Regions from separate parts of the Homo sapiens genome. Here region 2 is linked to region 1. Evidence: promoter capture Hi-C in human tissues and cell types (Jung and others, 2019). All regions are on one chromosome and are shown on one strand. The core of a region is centred on a gene start or on the middle of the fragment in contact, and the rest is flanking DNA. Distances in the headings are between cores, read along the strand shown.

Region 1 (3,223 bases), core at 425-2,924:
ATGCCCCAAGTTTGAGTTTGAACCTAACTCCAAATTGCTGTGTGACTTTGGATGAGTTTCCACCCTGCTCTGGGCCTCCATTCCCCACCTGTAAGAAGGAGCTGATGCTACCCGCTAAATGATGTGCTTGGCTAAAATCAAGCACCGTGACCCATTAGTGCATCGTAGAGCTGAGCAGAGCTCTGGCTGGGCTCTGGCGGGTCTAGCACCTTCGTGGGGCCTCAGTTGGCCCGCCTGGAGCTCTGTGGTCCCGGGGCAACTGCAGTGGACTCCTCACCTGGTCCTTGACGTGACCCCAGCCCTCGCCCAGCTCCACGTGTCTCAGGATGCCGTCCTGCCGGTCAAACAGGAGATCCAGGAGCTCAAAGCTGTCGATGGGGTCCATGGAGCAGGCAGCAGAAGCCATCTGGGGCGCGAGGAACAGATGTGAGGGTCACATACAGCCCCTGTCCTCCCCACCTCCCATGTGCACATAACCCTGGCTCTTTCCGGCTAGAGTTCAGTTGCCGCTCTGCCTCCGGGTTGGGCCAGCTGCTGCCCCTCGCTGAGACTCCCTTTCCAAATCTGGACTTTGAGGCTGATAGAGAGAATTCCACAGTGTGAGAGCCAATTTCTCTTAAAGTGCTGGAGAGGCTGGATGTGGTGGCTCATGCCTGTAATCTCAGCACTTTGGGAGGCCGGGGCAGGAGGATCACTTGAGCCCAGGAGTTCAAGACCAGCCTGCGCAACATAGAGACCCCTATCCCTACTGCAAATAATTTAAAAAAATTAGCTGGCTGCGGTGGCACACACTTGTCGTCCCAGCTACTGGGGAGGCTGAGGTAGGAGGATCCCTTGAACCCAGGAGGTTGAGGCTGCAGTGAGCTATGGCCACCCCACTGCACTCCACCCTGGGTCACAGAGCAAGACCTTGTTTCAAAAAACAAAAAAGTATGGCAGGCACGGTGGCTCACATCTGTAATCCCAGCACTCTGGGAAGCCGAGGCGGGCAGCTCACCTGAAGTCAGGAGTTTGAGACCAGCCTAGCCAACATGGTGAAACCCTGTCTCTAGGAAAAGTACAAAAATTAGCCGGGCGTGGTGGTGCACACCTGTAATCCCAACTACTTGGGAGGCTGAGGCAGGAAGATCTCTTGAACCCAGGAGGTGGAAGTTGCAGTGAGCTGAGATCGTGCCATTGCACTCTAGCCTGGGTGACAGAGGGAGACTCCATCTCAAAAAATAAAAATAAAAATAAAATAAAATAAAATAAAAAGTGCTGGAGAGAGGCCCTAGCTAGAGATGCCGCTTGCCTCTCAGGCCTTCACAGCCTCCCCAAGTGCCCGCTCCTAGGAGGCAGGGGGACCTGGAAGAAAGACAAGGGCAGCCCCGGGGCAAAGGCACACAGTTTTGCTCATTGCATCCTTTCTCTGGGCCTCAGTCTTCCCATCTGTACAATAGGGGTGGAGATGGGGTCCTTCCAGCTCTGGCAGCTTGGGTAGGCTTTCCCAGCCTAGACTCCCGCTCTCCCTGGGGACCTAGTAGGGCTCACCTTTCCAGCAGCTAAATCCGTATTCATGGGTCCATCCAGTTCTGTCTGCAGATGCCTCGGGGGGTCTCTGCTCCAAGCTGGAGGCCCACCCACCGCCAGCGTTACCTGGGGCCGGGCAAGCTCACAGCCCTCTGTGGCTCTGTCACCACTCCCAAAAGATGCTGAAGCGGTCACAGGCAGCTCCCAGCCCACCTCCAGGTGCTGATTGGTGGACAGGGTGGAGAGACAGGGTTGAGGGCCAGTGACACTGGGGCAGGCAGGAGCAGGGGAGGGAAGACCGTTATCTGGGTGTTTTGTGGTTTTCCAGCCCTCAGTGAGCAAAGGTCGAAGTCTGGGGTACCTCCACTCTGCCGTGACCTCTGCCCTACTTATGAGGACTTTTTCTTTTTTTCTTTCTTTTTTGAGACGGAGTCTCGCTCTGTGGCCCAAGCTGGAGTGCAGTGGTGCCATCTCATTTCGGCTCACTGCAACCTCTGCCTCTTGGGTTCAAGTGATTCTCCTGCCTCAGCCTCCCGAGTAGCTGGGACTACAGGTCCCCATCACCATGCCCGGCTAACTTTTGTATTTTTAGTAGAGACGAGGTTTCATCATGTTTTCCAGGCTGGTCTCGAACTCCTGACCTCGTGATCGGCCCCTCAGTCTCCCAAAGTGCGGGGATTACAGGCGTGAGCCACCGCACCCGGCCAGTTACAGGACTTTTTCTCTTCAGAATTCCCAGATGGGTTCTGGGATAGCCCAGGGCCCTTACATGGGTCCTGTCCACTCCCTGGACAGAAACAAACCAAGAGGACCAGACCAGATCTTCACTGAAGCCAGTTTTCCTGCCAGCAGCTAGCGGCTCCCATCCTTCACCCCACCTGCCAACCTCCGGCCCCCAGCCCCCTCCGAAACCAGCTTGGACTCCGCCTCTGAGTCCCCATGGGTGATTCTGTGCAATCAATTCTCTCTAGAATCTTCTATCGTTCATTGAGTCAACAAATATTTATGGAGCCAAACTGGTTCCTGCTTAGGGCCTTTGCACCTACTCACCTGCTCGCCCCTCTGCCTGGAACTCTCCTCTTGTACCCTCCCTCTTCCCCTCTGGCTCTAGGTCACTGTATTGACATTTTAGTGAATGTTCGATATTTGTGAATCAGCCCGGGTGGCTGAGAGGTGTCTCTGACCTCCCCTCCACCCCCTACCAAGAGAGAGGAGCCCTGTTTTGTTTTTTTGTTTTTTTTTTTGGTGTTGGTGGAGGACAGGGTCTCACTCTATTGCCCAGGCTGGAGTGCAGTGGCAGGATCATAGCTCACTGCAGCCTCCAACTCCTGGGTTCAAGTGATCCTCCCGTCTCAGCCTCCCAAGTAGCTAGGACTGCAGGCGTGCACCACCACACCTGGCTAATTTTGTTTTTTTTTTTTTATAGAGATGGGGTCTTACTGTGTTGGCCAGTATGGTCTCAAACTCCTGGGCTCAAATGATCCACCTGCTTCAGCCTCCCAAAGTGCTGGATTTACAGGCATGAGCCACTGTGCCCAGGCAAAGTCCCCCTTTAGCAGATGACATATTAGACCAAGCGTGGTGGCTCACATCTGTAATGCCAGCACTTTGGGAGGCCGAGGTGGGTGGATCACCTGAGGTCAAGAGTTTGAGACCAACCTGGCCAACATGGTGAAACCCCATCTGTACTAAAAATATAAAAATTAGATGGGTG
Region 2 (3,408 bases), core at 423-2,922, 850 kb after region 1:
AGAGCAAGTGATCTAACACAGGTGTAATTGGAATCCCACAGGAGAAGGAAGACTAGGGCAGCTGATTGTTTTCAGAGAATAGCCAATAATTTTCACAGATCCATGAGGCTCAGAAAACACCAAACAGAATAAATATCCTCTAAGAGACATACCCAGACATATATTCAAAATGCAGAAAATTGGCTGGGCGTGGTGGCTCACGCCTGTAATCCCAGCACTTTGGGAGGCTGAGGCAGGCAGATCACGAGGTTAGGAGATCGAGACCATCCTGGCTAACACAGGGAAGGTCTTGCCAGCCTTATAGGTCACAGGGAGGCTTTGACCCAGAGGAAGGTGGGAGCCTTGGAGTGCTGTAGGCAGAGGAGGGACAGGCCCTAACTCGGGTGCTCACAGCCCCCCTCTGGTGGCTGCTGCAGGGAGGACAGACTGTGTGGCAGAGGGTGGAGCCTAGGACCAAGGCAGAGGCAACTGCGCCAGGTCCAGGTGGGCAACGATGGGGCTGGACCCAGGCAGAGGAACAGGAAGAAGTGAGCGTTTGAGGATGGAATAGTGAGGGCAGGGGCGACAGGACCTGCTGATAGATTGGAGTTGAGCAAGAAACAAAAGATCCAGGATAGCGTTGATATTCGGCTCCAGCACCCGGAAGAATGGAACTGCCGGGCCGGGCGCGGTGGCTCACGCCTATAATCCCAGCACTTTGGGCGGCCGAGGCAGGCGGATCACGAGGTCAGGAGATCGAGACCATCCTGGCTAACACGGTGAAACCCCGTCTCTACTAAAAATACAAAAAATTAGCCAGGCGTGGTGGCAGGCACCTGTAGTCCCAGCTACTCGGGAGGCTGAGGCAGGAGAATGGTGTGAACCCGGGAGGCGGAGCTTGCAGTGAGCCGAGATCGCGCCACTGCACTCTAGCCTGGGCGACAGAGCGAGACTCCGTCTCAAAAAAAAAAAAAAAAAGAATGGAACTGCCATCAGCTGAGATGCAGACGACGAGGGAGGAGCAGGATTGGGGACCAAGGACAGAGTGTTGTCCTGACTAGCAACCCCTTAGCTGTCAGAGATTAGGGCTGAGTTCATTTGAGGCTTTGATGGAGGACAGACAGGCAGAGAAAGCTCAGACCCTTGTCCCCAGTCATCCTGCATGGGAGCCCCTGCGACCAGAGCCGGGAGCTGTCCGCGACCCCCGGTGCTGAAGCTCCCATTCTAAGCAGGAACTCCGGAGCCCCCGCTGGAGTAAAGTGTCTGACATGTAGTGAACGCTCAAAACGTATCCCTGAATTTCACCCAAGGTGGCAAAGCGATTTCAGCGTCATCGTACTGCGCTGGTTTCTATGTCCCGCACGCCCCAACCTGTACTTTACGGATATGCAAACTGAGACCATGAGAGGTTGCTGCACCTTTAAAAATCACGCAATGCATCACTTTATTATTATTATTATTTTTTTTGAGACGGAGTCTGGCTCTGTGGCCCAGGCTGGAGTGCAGTGGCACGATCTCCACTCACTGCCACCTCCGCCTTCTGGATTCAAGCGATCCTCCTGCCTCAGCCTCCTGAGTAGTTGGGATTACAGGCACTCGCCACCACACCCGGCTAATTTTTGTATTTTTAGTAGAGACGGGGTTTCACCATATTGGCCAGGCTGATCTTGAACTCCTGACCTCGGGTGATCTGCCCTCCGCGGCTTCCCAAAGTGCTGGGATTACAGGCATGAGCCACGGCGCCCGGCTACGTAATGCATCACTCTTGACGTCACAATCAGCTAGGCTCTGAAGACAAATCCGAGTTCAGGCTGTGGATTGGCTGATCCCTCATGAATATGTAGATTACTCTCACCCTTCACCTCGCTCTGGTAGGTTCAGAAAAGTGAGGGGGTGGAGAGGAGGCGGGGCTGGGGGCGGGGCTGGAAACTGTTCCTGTGAGGGTTGGGGCAAGTAGTGGGGCGGGGCCAGGGACTATGGACGTGGTCAGAATTTTTGTACATTTCGTTCCCTGCCTTCTCCCCAGTACCTTTCTACAACAGCTCCTAGTACCCAGTAGGTGCTTCATAAATGTTTATTGACTCTGGATTCCAGTAGGAGTGATGCCTGAGAGTTCACTTTTCTGACCGGGGAGAAGGTCCTATTTTGCCTATAATGTGATAGTATCATTGGTATCATTCATCTTGATCTGCCCAGTTCTGGATGTTTGCATAATAACCTGAGCCCAGGCCGGGCGTGGTGGCTCACGCCTGTAATCCCAGCACTTTGGGAGGCCGAGGCGGTTGGATCAGGAAGGCCGAGGCGGGCGGATCAAGAGGTCAGGGATTCGAGACCAGCCTGACCAATATGGTGAAACCCTGTCTCTATTAAAAATACAAAAATTAGCCGGGTGTGGTGGCGCGCACCTGTAATCCCAGCTACTCGGGAGGCTGAGGCAGCAGAATCTCTTGAACCTGGGAGGCGGAGGTTGCAGTGAACTGAGATCGCGCCACTGCACTCCAGCCTGGGTGACAGAGTGAGACTCCGTCTCAAACAACCAACCAAAAATTATGTGTATACACACACACACACACATACACACGTATATATACATATATACACACATATACATTATATGTATATACACACATATGTATGTGTATATATATATATACACACACACACACACACACACATATATATATATATATCTCATGAGCCCCGTCTTACAGATGAGGAAACTGAAGCTTGGAGAGAGAATGCAAGGCTTAAGGGCATGCATGTCTTAAGTCAATCAGCAAATATTGAGGACCCAGAGGTGAGGAACTCCAGCTCCCTTGGTCGGGACTCAGCTCCTATTTGGCCCTCAGTTTTACCCCCACACATCCTGCTTCAGTCCTCTGTGTGGTTTCGAGGCCACAGTTGAGGGGCTCTCTGTTTTCTAACTCGGACCTAGGTAATTCCTACTTTTTTTTTTTTTTTTTTTTTTTTTTTTTAGACGGCGTTTCACTCTTGTCGCCCAGGCTGGAGTGCAGTGGCGCAATCTCGGCTCACCGCAACCTCCGCCTCCCAGGTTCAAGCGATTCTCCGGCCTCAGCCTCCTTAGTAGCTGGGATTACAGGCATGCACCACCACACCCGACTAATTTTGTATTTTCAGTAGAGACGGGGTTTCTCCATGTTGGTCTGGCTAGTCTCGAACTCCCGTCCTCAGGTGATCCACTCACCTCGGCCTCCCGAAGTGCTGGGATTACAGGCGTGAGCCACCGCGCCCGGCCAGTAATTCCTACTTCTACCCCCACCTTTGCTAACGCCATGCCCTGGGCCTAGCAGGTCACGGGTGTCTCCATCCCAACCCAGCATCTCCGACCTCCAGGGTGGGAACAGAGTGTTCCAGGCTAGGGAAACCGCACGTGCAAAGGCCTGGCAGCCAAACCACATTCAGTTACTG

The links. The method cuts DNA at HindIII sites, captures the fragments that hold promoters and counts their contacts. A contact is called where the count stands out against the background at its distance.
Region 2: a contact is called between a fragment that was not itself captured here and the fragment with the promoter of CREB3L3 in region 1, in 2 of the 25 tissues and cell types used here (aorta and spleen).

Annotation. Positions count from the first base shown.
Region 1 is chr19:4,152,082-4,155,304 of GRCh38, reverse strand. CREB3L3 (cAMP responsive element binding protein 3 like 3) reads right to left here and starts at 1,674. Exons shown (of 10, transcript NM_032607.3): 1 at 1,531-1,674; 2 at 278-406. The coding sequence starts at 1,557. The HindIII fragment of the contact is 37,156 bases long and covers 1-3,223 here.
Region 2 is chr19:3,305,291-3,308,698 of GRCh38, reverse strand. It overlaps LOC105372244 (a long non-coding RNA gene), which reads left to right and starts at 1,797. Exons shown (of 3, transcript NR_187753.1): 1 at 1,797-1,850. The HindIII fragment of the contact is 7,399 bases long and covers 1-3,408 here.